2 separate regions of the Homo sapiens genome follow, and region 1 is linked to region 2. The links are contacts of gene promoters, found by promoter capture Hi-C in human tissues and cell types (Jung and others, 2019). All regions are on one chromosome and are shown on one strand. Each heading gives the region's core, a stretch centred on a gene start or on the middle of the fragment in contact. The rest is flanking DNA. Distances are from core to core; before and after follow the strand shown.

Region 1 (6,540 bases), core at 633-3,132, 180 kb before region 2:
CTTGTTCTGTGCTCCGTAGATGGTACCTTGTGGCTACATCCTCACGTGGGGGAAGGGGAAGACAGCTCTCTTGAATTAAAAAAAAGAAAAAATTAAGTTTAAAAATTTTTTATTAAATTATTTTTTTTTTAAGAGACAGGGTCTCATTATGTTGCCCAGGCTGGTCTCAAACTCCTGAGCTCAAGTGATCCTCCCCACTTAGCCTCCCAAACTGTTAGGATTACAGGCGTGAGCCACTGCACCCAGGCTTGAACCTTTTTTATAAGGTTACTAATCCCATTCATGAGAGCTCTGACCTTATGACTTAATCACCTCCTAAAGGCCCCACCTCTTCTTACCATCACACTGGTGACTAAGTCTCAATATATGCATTTTGGGGGAATACATTCAGACCACAGAACTCTATAATGTATTAAGTTTTATAAATGAAAGTTGTACAAAATAGTGTAAGTGTATACTGAAGGGAAAGGGGAGGCTTCACAGGGGAAATGATATTTGAACTAGACCTTGATGACTGAATAGGAGCTCACCAGAAGGGAAGGGGGCTTCTGGGCAGGGTGAGCAGCTCAAGCAAAGGCCCAGTGTATTAGTCCATTTTCATGCTGCTGATAAAGACATACTGGAGACTGGGCAATTTACAAAAGAAAGAGGTTTAATGACTTACAGTTCTGGTTGGCTGGGGAAGCCTCACAATCATGGTGGAAGGCAAGGAGGAGCAAGTCACGTCTTACATGAGTGGCAGCAGGCAAAAAAAGAGCTTATGCAGAGAAACTCCTGTTTTTTAAAACAATCAGATCTCGTAAGACCCATTCACTATCACAAGAACAGCACAGGAAAGACCCACTCCCATGATTCAATCATCTTCCACTGGGTTCCTCCCACAACACATGGGAATTATGGGAGCTACAAGATGAGATTTGGGTGGGGACACAGATCCAAATCATATCACCCAGAGGTTGGAAGCATGAAAGAATGCCACTTCTTGGCTGGAAGCAGTGCCTCATTCCTATAATCCCAGCACTTTGGGAGGCCAAGGTGGGTGGATCACCTGAGGTCAGGAGTTTGAGACTAACCTGGCCAACATGGTGAAACCCCTTCTCTACTAAAAATACAAAAATTAGCTGGGTGTGGTGGCTCATGCCTGTAATCACAGCTACTCGGGAGGCTGAGGCAGGAGAATCACTTGAACCCAGGAGGCAGAGGTTGCAGTGAGCCGAGATCATGCCATTGCACTCCAGCCTGGGTGACAAGAACAAAACTCCATCTCAAAAAAAAAAAAAAAAAAAGAATATCACTTCTTGAGCAACTAGGCAGCTTGGTTTTGGTTCTAGAGCCAGGTCTCTTTCTCTGCAGAATGAGTCTATTCTTCCCAGCTGAAGCATGGGCTTGATTAGAGATGGAATGGTATGAGAGACGGGGCTGGAGAGGTTGGCAGGGGCAGGTCATGGAGAGCTATCTGGGCCACACCAAGAAGTTTGGTGCCTGTAGGGCATCATTTCTCAAAGTGTGGTCTCCAAATCCTCTCAAGAAGTCCAAGAGGTCAAAATCATTTTTGTAACAATGCTAACATAAGATTTGCTCTTTTTATTTTGTTGACTTTTTTTTTTTTTGACACCAAGTCTCACTCTGTCACCCAGGCTGGAGTGCAGTGGCGCGGATTCTCTTGCCTCAGGCTCCCAAGTAGCTGGGATTATAGGCTTGCACCACCACACCCAGCTAATTTTTTTTTTTTTTTTTTTTTTTTGTATTTTTAGAAGAGACAGGGTTTCACCATGTTAGCCAGGATGGTCTCCATCTCCTGACCTCATGATCTGCCCGCCTCGGCCTCCCAAAGTGCTGGGATTACAGGTGTGAGCCAACACACCCTGCCTGACATTTTGAATGATGGTGCAAGAGCAATATTGAGTGGGGCCGGGTGCGGTGGCTCATACTTGTAATCCCAACACTTTGGGAGGCCAAGGTGGGTGGGTCACTTGAGATTAGGAGTTTGAGACCAACCTGGCCAACATAATGAAACCTCGTCTCTACTAAAAATACAAAAATTAGCCGGGTGTGGTGGCATGTGCCTGTAATTTCAGTGACTCAGGGGGCTGAGGCAGGAGAATCACTTGAACCTGGGAGGTGGAGATTTCAGAGAGCCGAGATTTCACCACTGCACAAGACTCTGTCTCGCAAACAAACAAACAAAAAACCCACAAAATAACATGGTCAGAGGGATACACTAGTTGACTTCTTGGCCTAAACTTCCTACCTAGACATTTCAAGATTCTTTGACAGTCTCTGTTTTAGGCATCAAATGTGCACACTGTAGACGTGCAAAAAGCTTTCTGTTGTTTCAAATGAAATTGAGTTTTGGGTGGGCTCGGTGGCTCACATGCCAGCACTTTGGGAGGCCAAGGCAGGTAGATCCCTTGAGGTCAGGGTTCGAGACCAGCCTGGCCAATATGGCAAAACCCTGTCTCCATTAAAAATACAAAAATTAGCCGCATGTGGCGGTGGATGCCTGTAATCCCAGCTACTTGGGAGGCTGAGGCATAAGAATCACTTGAGCCTGGGAGGCAGAAGTTGCAGTCAGCTGAGATTATGCCTCTGAGATTGTGCCACTGCACTCCAGTCTGGGTGATAGAGTGAGACTCCGTCTCAAAAAAAAAAAAAAAAAAAGTTTGTTTTATCTAAGAAGAATATCCTCAATGAAACAGTAAAATTATCATTTTTATTAAGTCTTCACCCTTCAGCACGACTTTCTATTATTCTGTGTGATGGAATGGGAAGTATGTATAAAACAATTCTTTTGCATACCAAAGTACTGTGGTTATCTCTAGGAAAGGCACTTGTGTAATTGTTTGAGTTGCAGGTGAAACTAGCCATTCTTTATGGAATGCCATATTTTAGTTGAAAGAACAACTGCCAAAGAAAAAAATTATGACTCTTCGGATTTTAGTATTTGGCAGATATTTTCTTAAAAATGAATGCAGCGATGTTTATAGCAGCACAATTTGCAATTGCAAAAATGTGGAACCAGACAAATGCCCACCAATCAATGAGTGAATAAAGAAACTGTGGGGGGTGTGTGTGTGTGTGTGTGTATATATATGTATATATATATACATGTGTACCTGTATATGTGTGTGTATATATATACACACATATATATACACACGTACATATATATACATATATATACACACGTACATATATACATATATACACACGTACATATATACATATATATACACACGTACATATATATACATATATACACACACGTACATATATATACATATATATACACACACACACACACACACATATATGATGGGATATCACTCAGCCATAATAAGAAATGAATTAATGGCATTCACAGCAACCTGGATGAGATTGGGGACTATTATTCTTTTTTTTTTTTTTTTTGAGATGGAGTTTTGCTCTGTCGCCCAGGCTGGAGTGCAGTGGCACGATCTCTGCTCACTGCAAGCTCCGCCTCCTGGGTTCACGCCATTCTCCTGCCTCAGCCTCCCGAGTAGCTGGGACTACAGGCGCCCACCACCATGCCTGGCTAATTTTTTGTATTTTTAGTGGAGACGGGGTTTCGCCGTGTTAGCCAGGATGGTCTCGATCTGCTGAACTCGTGATCCGCCCGTCTCGGCCTCCCAAAGTGCTGGGACTACAGGCATGAGCCACCGCGCCCAGCTGGAGACTATTATTCTAAGTGAGGTAACTCAGGAATGGAAAATCAAACATCGTATATTCTCACTCATAAGTGGGAGCTAAGCTATGAGGATGCAAAGGCATAAGAATGATACAATGGACTTTGAAGACTCGGAGGGTAAGGGTGGGAAGGGGGTGAAGAATAAAAGACTACAAATTGGATTTAGTGTATACTGTTTGGGTGATGGGTGCACCAAAATCTCACAAATCACCACTAAAGAACTTATTCATGTAACAGATACACCTGTTCCCTCCAAAACCTATGGAAATAAAAAATGTTTTTAAAAAAAAGTTATTTGAGAAAGATTAAAAAACTCCTAACTACTGAAAAACAAAATGAATGCAGTGAGATGGTCACTTCAAGGAAAGCAACTGACAGTATTTGTTGTCAATGATAACACTTGAGCTTTTGAGCAAAAACTTAAATGTCGGAAATTTTACACCATGGCTTTGACAGCGTCCCAGTACTAAAATAATTTTCTGATAAAATCAGTGGTAATATCACTGGTAACATTAACTAATGAGATTTTTCAACTAATGAGATTTCTCAACATTCAACAGTGTAATGAAATATATCACTGTTTGGAAGCTGTGCTTAAGTTAGTGAATCAATATCTTCCACAGGATCAATGCTTGATACTGTCAAATCATACATGGATGAAATATCTATTAAAAATGCAAGATAGCACGCCTGTAATCCCAGCACTTTGGGAGGCCGAGGTGGGTGGATCACGAGGTCAGGAGATCGAGACCATCCTGGCTAACACGGTGAAACCCCGTCTCCACTAAAAATACAAAAAAATTAGCTGGGCTAGGTGGCGGGTGCCTGTAGTCTCAGCTAATCGGGAGTCTGAGGCAGGAGAATGGCATGAACCTGGGAGGCGGAGCTTGCAGTGAGCCGAGATTGCACCACTGCACTCCAGACTGGGCGACAGAGCAAGACTCCATCTCAAAAAAAAAAAAAAAAAAAAAAAGCAAGCTAGATCAATGGATTTCAATGTAACAGAGTAAGAAAAGTCTATGTATATTGAAGCCGTATCCCACATTGCAACTAACCTTTACGAAACTATCACTTGAGCTATCACAAGTTGAGTTTTGGTGTAGTATTAAAGAAGACAATTATCTGAAAGGCCATAAAAATAGCCCTCATTTTCCCCCAAGTACATATTTATGTGAGGGCCAATCTTCTCATAAACTTCAACCAAAACAATAAATTGCAACAGATTGACTGCAGAAGCAAAGATGAGAATTGAGATGTTTTCTATTTAAGCCAAACAACAAAAAGACTTGCAAAGCTGTAAAACAATGCCATGTTGCTCACCAATTATTTTTGTCTTGGAAGATTTAGCTATTTTTCGCAAAAATATTTACATGTAATGAGCTTACTATTTTATTTTATTTATTTATTTATTTTGAGATGGAGTCTTGCTCTGTTGCCCAGGCTGGAATGCAGTGTCACAATCTCTGCTCACTGCAACCTTTGCCTCCCGGGTTCAAGCAATTCTCCTGCTTCAGCCTCTCAAGTAGCTGGAACTACAGGTGCCTGCCACTATGCCTGGCTAATTTTTGTATTTTTAGTAGAGACAAAGTTTCACCCTGTTGGCCAGGCTGGTCTTGAACTCCTGACCTCAAGTGATCCGCCAGGCTTGGGCTCCCAAAGTACTGGGATTGCAGGCGTGAATCACTATGCCTGGCCTATTTTTAAATAAATAAATAAATATTTTGAAATATTCTCACTTTCAATTTCTAATCTGGTAAATGTTGATAGATATAACCTACATGAACAAAAGCTCTTTGGAGTCGTCAATAACTTTTTTCTTTTTTTTTTTTTTGAGATGGAGTTTCACTCTTATTGCCTAGGCTGGAGTGCAAATGGCATGATCTTGGTTCACTGCAACCTCCATCTCCCAGGTTCAAGTGATTCTCCTGCCTCAGCCTCCCATGTTGCTGGGATTACAGGCATGCACCACCACACCTGGCTAATTTTGCATTTTTTTAGTAGAGACAGGGTTTCACCATGTTGGTCAGGCTGGTCTCAAACTCCTGACCTCAAGTGATCCACCTGCCTCAGCCGCCCAAAGTGCTGGGATTACAGGCTTGAGCCACCGCACCTGGCTCTTCATTAACTTTTATAACTGTAAAGGGGTCCTGAGACCAAAAAGTTTGAAAACCATTGCTAAAATGAGCTACAACGAAAGAAAAGTCAGCGTCAGATTTGAACAAGAGGGGAGATTTTATACTAGAAAGATCCTTCTAAAGGCAGTGTGGAAGCAAGGCCAGAGTGGAACCAGGTTGCGCGCAGGTGCCCCAGTCAGGGAGTGAGACATAAGAATGGAAGGGGACTGGATGCAGTGGCTCATGCCTATAATCCCAACACTTCGGGAGGACAAGGAAGGAGGATTGCTTGAGCTCAGAGAAGTTCAAGAGCAGGCTGGGCATCATGGCAAAATCTCATCTCTACAAAAATTACAAAAGTTAGCCTGACATGGTGGCATACGCCTGTAGTCCAAGCTAATTGGGAGGCTGAGCTGGGAGGATCGCTTAAGCCTGGGAGGTCAAGGCTGCAGTGAGCCAAAATCACGCCACTGTACTCCAGCCTGGGTGATAGAGCAAGATCCTGTCTCCAGAAGAAAAAAAAAAAAGGCAATGGGATTGGGAATAGGAGAGGAGAGTATTTTTGCAAGGAACATTCTATAAGTAGAAATGACAGGACATGTTGGCTATCTGCCCACACTCACCCACCCATTGCTCCTCCCCATAGCAGTATCACTTTCATCTAAATTCCTTATAGTCTTGGCTGTCCTCTCTAATGGGCTTCAAGCTTAATGTGTC
Region 2 (5,667 bases), core at 961-3,460:
GGACTCTCAGCAAAGCATCTCCCTCCAAGTGGTTGTGGGGCATCCTCCTTGGGCAGGGAAAGAGGAGTCGAAATGATTTCCTGAGAAATCGTCATTTTCATTTTATTTTTGAGAAACTGTCTTGCTCTGTCACCCAGTCTGGAGTGCTTTGGGGCTATCACAGCTTGCTGTAGCCTAGAGCCCCTGGGCTCAAGTGATCCTTCTGCCTCAGCCTTCCAGGTAGCTGGGACTACAGGCACACGGCACCATGCAGGACTAATTTGTTAATTTTTCATTTCAGAGAGACAGCATCTCCTGTGTTGCCCAAGCTGTCTTGAGCTCCTAGCATCATGTGATTCTCCCGCCTCTGCCTCCCACAGCACTGAATTACAGGCCTCAGCCGTGGCACTGCACCCTTCTGAGGAATCTTCAGTGAAAAGCCACGGTCAAGTTCAAACCCCATAGCAGGGCACACAGGCCCTCTGATGCTCTGGACCCCACCTTCCTCACCGCTCCCTGCCACCACAGTCACCTTAGGTCCAGGCACCCACTGACGCCCTGCTTCGGTGCCTCCTGGAGCCCATCTACTCCTCCCACTCCCATCCCCAGCCTCAGGCCTTCACTCAGCTGCTCCCTCGCCCTGGAATGTCCCCCCCACTGTCCCCACCATGTGCAAGTCACCTGTCCTCAGAGACCCACCCAAAGCTGCCTGGTCCATGCGGCGGCCCCCAACCCTCCCCAGGCTCCCTGAGCACTCTGCTTTCCAGAGGGAGCTCTACCTGTATGTGGCTCTTTGGGCCTCTGTCTCCCCTTTAGACTCTGAACATTCAATGGGGACACTGTTGTGTTCCCAGCTGCACCCCCTACGACTGACCTGGATGCCCTCCGCCCTCCCTGGCACAGCCTGGCTGAAATCCCAGGTGCAGGAGGCATTACTTGAACTAAAAGCAACCAGCCTCTGGATGACATGGCCCAGCTTCAGTTTCACTTTCAGTTGAGAAATTGAATTTAATTTTTCTTTCTATCTTGATGGGCATCTCTTTTTGGTGAAGAACAAATAAGACCATGACTCATATTTCACAGAAATTACCCCCCTGATTTCATGGACTTTTGGCAGCTCTATCAAGTTTTTTAGAGGGGAAAAATCTTAGGCTGGGAGGGGAGGTGACTTGCCCAGAGTCACACAGCTCTTGGAGGGCAGAGGGGAGGCCAACATCTGCCCTTGTGACTCTGATATTGAAGCAAAAATGGGTGATTTTAATAATCCAACAGTGTCCAGGTTTGATTCTGCTTCTACAAACACAGAGACCTAAGCTCTCACTCCTGTAGTTATACTCACAATTCCACAGTGTGGCTTTTGAATCTCATGATTGCAAAGCTGGCATCATGCCACAGGTACCATTCTGCAATGCGACCTTCTCACTCCCCTGTCTCAGCCATGTTTCCCATTAGGGACACAGCACAGCCTGTTTCTTCTCTATCAGCTCAGAGGTCTGAACAGAGGGACAGAGGTGAGGGCCAGAGACGTGAAGTCCTATGATCTGCCTGCTCAGCCTCCTGACACGGGACCCTGGCAAGTCATTCCCCTCCCAGGGCCTCAGTTTCCCCACAGGGCCTGGCACAAGTAGGTGCTCAGACTCAGGGTGAGTGAGACAACCTCTGAGTTCCTTGTGTCTCAAAAGAAATCTGTTGTTCCCATTGGGCTTCAGCAGCAGCACCCTGGGGCCAGCCTGGGTGTGGCCCGGCCACAAGGACATGCCGGGCTCCAGGTCACCTCCCCTCCTCCACCTTCTTTGATTCCTTCAAATTTCCCAAAGAGATGGGCACCCCCAACACCTACCTTTCTTCTGGGGTCAGCTGGCCGTGTCTGAGGGTGTCAGAACCAGAGCTGAGCCCGGGGAGCTTTGTGAACCCATCTAAGCTGTTTTCCCCACCTCTCTCTACAGTTTACCCGCCCAGCAGGAGGGAGGGAGCAATCAGACTCAAGCCTGGGTGCAAATCCCGGCTCTGCCACTGCTTTCCTGTCTGATCTGAACCAGCTACCTAACCTCTCTGAGCTTATCTACAAAAGCTGAATGATCCTTCCCTTATAGAGCTATTGCAAGAATAAGGACATGGGGGTAGATCACACTATCCCCAACTTACCAAGGGATCTTCCTCTGACAGAGACTGAGCAAGATCCAACTGTTCTGAGCTGTGTGGATCCCACGTCCAGCTGTGCATCTGTGTAATAACCAGACACGTCCTCCGGCCTCCCAGATATACCCTGGAATTCGAAAGGGAAAGTGAAAGTCACAACTTCCCAGCAGCTCATGACCAAGCACAGTAAACACGCTGCTCCCCAGCACCACCTGCAGTCCAGGCCCAGCCTCCTTGCTGCTGCACTTAGAGGAGCAGCCGCAGACCAGACATCCGGGTCCCTCTCATCCAACCCACCTGCCTCACATCCTCAGGATTCAAGGTCTGCTGTGTCAGCTGCCCATGTCTCAGGCAGTCAGAACCAGAGTTGAGCCTGGGGAGTTTTTTGAACCCATCTGAGCCGCTTGCCCCCCAACCCCCGCCCCGATCTCTGCAGTTTAAGGGCACAGCAGGTGGGGGAGAGAAGTCAGACTCAAGCCTCAGTGCAATTCCAGGCTCTGCCCCTGTTTTACTGTCTGATCTGAACTAGTTACCTAACCTTTCTGAGCTCAAGAAAGACCTGCCACTGACTGACCGTGGGGCTCTCCAGATTACTCCCCGTCCTTCCGTTCCCCCACATTCCTCAGATGCCTGCCTTACTCCCACACATGCCATCAGCATCAGCACAGTCCCCCACACATGCTGGGTGGATGCTTATTGCATATTTATTGTAATGCTTCTGAGGTTATGTTTTCTGTTATGTTTTTGATATAGAGTCTTGCTCTGTAGCCCAGGCTGGAGAGCAGTGGCACAATCATAGCTACTTCAAGTGGCACAATCAAGCCATCCTCCCATCTCAGCTTCCGAGTAGCTGGGATTACAGGTGCCTGCCACTACACCCAGCTAATTTTTTGTAATTTTAGTAGAGATGGGGTTTCACCATCTTGGCCAGGCTGGTCTTGAACTCCTGACCTCAAGTGATCCACCTGCCTTGGCCTCCCAAAGTGCTGGGATTACAGGTGTGAGCCACGGCGCCCAGCCCATTGTATCCTTCTTGTGACTTTGTGTCTTCATAGCTTAGCTCCTACTAATAAATGAGAACATACAATATTTGGTTTTCCATTCCTGAGTTACTTCACTCAGAATAATGGTGTCCAACTTCATCCAGATTGTTACGGATGCCATTATTCCCTTCCTTTTTACAGCTGAGTAATATTCCATGGCATATACATATATAGGGGTGTGTGTGTGTGTGTGTGTGTGTGTATATACACACACATTTTCTTCATCCACTTGTTGGCTGATGAGCATTTAGGTTGGTTCCATATTTTTTCGGTTGCAAATTATGCAGCTATAAACATGCATGTGCGAGTATCTTTTTTATATAATAACTTTTCTCCTCTGGGTAGATACCCGGTAGTGGGATTACTGGATCAAATGGTATTCTACTTTTAGTTTTTTAAGGAGTTGCCATACTGTTTTCCATAGTGGTTGTACTAGTTTACATTCCCACCACCAGTGTAAAAGTTTTCCCTTGTCACCATATTCACACCATTTTAGCTAGGCTGGTCTTGAACTCCTGACCTCAAGTGATCCACCTGCTTTGGCCTCCCAAAGTGCTGGGATTACAGGTGTGAGCCACTGCACCCTTCTATTCTTCTTTGATTTTTAAATTATGGCCATTCTTGCAGGAGTAAGGTGGCAACTTATTGCAGTTTTAATTTGCATTTCTCTGATAATTAGTGACGTTGAGCACATTTTCATATTTTTTTGGCCATTTCATTTTGTATATCTTCTTTTGAGAATTGTCTATTCATGTCCTTTGCCCACTTTTTGATGGGATTATTTTTTTTTTCTTGCTGATTTGTTTGAGTTCCTTGTAGAAACTGGATATTAGTCCTTTGTCAAATGCACAGTTTGCAAATATTTTCTCCCACTTTGAGGGTTGTCTGTTTTCTCTGCTGATTATTTATTTTGCTGTGCAGAAGCTTTTTACTTTAATTAGGTCCCATCTCTTTATTTTTGTTTTCGTTGCATTTATTTTTGGGTTCTTGGTCCTGAATTCTTTGCCTAAGCCAATGTCTGGAGGAGTTTTTCCGATGTTATCTTCTAGAATTTTTATGGTTTCAGGTTTTAGATTTAAGTCTTTGATCCATCTTGAGTTGATTTTTGTATGAGGATACTGTTTCATTCTTCTACATGTGGCTTGCCAATTATCCTGGCACCATTTGTTGAATAGGGTGTCCTTTCCGCACTATACGTTTTTCTTTGCTTTGTCAAAGACTAGTTAGCTGAAAGTATTTGGCTTTATTTCTGGGTTCTCTATTCTGTTCCCTTGATCTATGTGCCTATTTTTATACCGGTACCATTCTGCCATTATGTACCTTTTTTTTTTTTTTTTTTTTTTTTTTTTGAGATGGAGTCTCTCTCTGTCACCCAAGCTGGAGTGCAGTGGTGCGATCTTGGCTCGCTGCAAGCTCCACCTCCTGGGTTCATGCTATTCTCCTGCCTCAGCCTCCCGAGTAGCTGGGACTACAGGCGCCCACCACCACACCTGGCTAATTTTTTTTTTTTTTTTTTTTTGTATTTTAGTAGAGATGGGGTTTCACTGTGTTAGCCAGGATGGTCTCGATCTCCTGACCTCGTGATCTGCCTGCCTTAGCCTCCCAAGGTGCTGGGATTACAGATGTGAGCCACTGCACCCAGCCCTTGTACCTTTTAAGTGAACCATTTAGCCCATTTTCATTCAATGTTAGTATTGAGATATAAAGTGCTGTTCTATTCATCAGGCAAGTTGTTGCCTAAATACCTTATTTTTTTCATTGTGTTATTGTTTTATAGGCCCTAAGGCTTATAAAACAATATGCTGTAAGGAGGTTCTATTTTGGTGTATTTCGAGGTTTTGTTTCAAGACTTAGAACTCCGTTTAGCATTTCTTGTAGTACTGGCTTGGTAGTGGCGAATTCTTTCAGCATTTGTTTGTCTGAAAAAGACTTTATCTCTCCTTCATTTATGAAGCTTGGTTTTGCTGGATACAAAATTCTTGACTAACAATTATTTTGTTTAAGGAGGCTAACAACAGGACTCCAGTCCCTTCTGGCTTGTATGGTTTCTGCTGATAAATTAGCTGTTAATCTCATAGATTTTCCTTTACAGGTTACCTTATGCTTTTGTCTCACAGCTCTTAAGATTATTTCCTTCTTCTTGACTTTAGATACCCTGATGACATGTGCCTAGGTGAGGATCATTTTGTGATGAATTTCCCAGATGTTCTTTGAACTTCTTGTATCTGGATATCTAGATCTCTAGCAAGGCCAAGGAAGTTTTCCTCAATTATTCCCTCAAATAAGTTTTCCAAACTTTTAGATTTCTCTTCATCCTCAGCAACACCAATTATTCTTAAATTTGGCCATTTAACATAATCTCAAATTTCTTGGAGGCTTTGCTCATTTTTTAAAATTCTTTTTTCTTTGTCTTTGTCTGATTGGGTTAATTTGAAAGCTGTGTCTTCAAGCTCTGAAGTTCTTTCTTCTACTTGTTCTAGTCTATTGTTGAAACTTTCCAGTGCCT

Evidence for each region. The method cuts DNA at HindIII sites, captures the fragments that hold promoters and counts their contacts. A contact is called where the count stands out against the background at its distance.
Region 1: a fragment that was not itself captured here is called in contact with the fragment with the promoter of APOL2 in region 2 in 1 of the 25 tissues and cell types used here (mesendoderm cells).

Annotation. Positions count from the first base shown.
Region 1 is chr22:36,056,823-36,063,362 of GRCh38, forward strand. No RefSeq gene overlaps it. Among named protein-coding and RNA genes, the nearest start is that of RBFOX2, 31 kb to the left of the region's middle. The HindIII fragment of the contact is 5,087 bases long and covers 1-4,426 here.
Region 2 is chr22:36,237,317-36,242,983 of GRCh38, forward strand. It overlaps APOL2 (apolipoprotein L2), which reads right to left and starts at 2,211. Exons shown (of 5, transcript NM_030882.4): 1 at 2,125-2,211. RefSeq lists enhancers at 1,138-1,652, 2,190-2,439, 2,450-2,499. The HindIII fragment of the contact is 12,319 bases long and covers 1-4,600 here.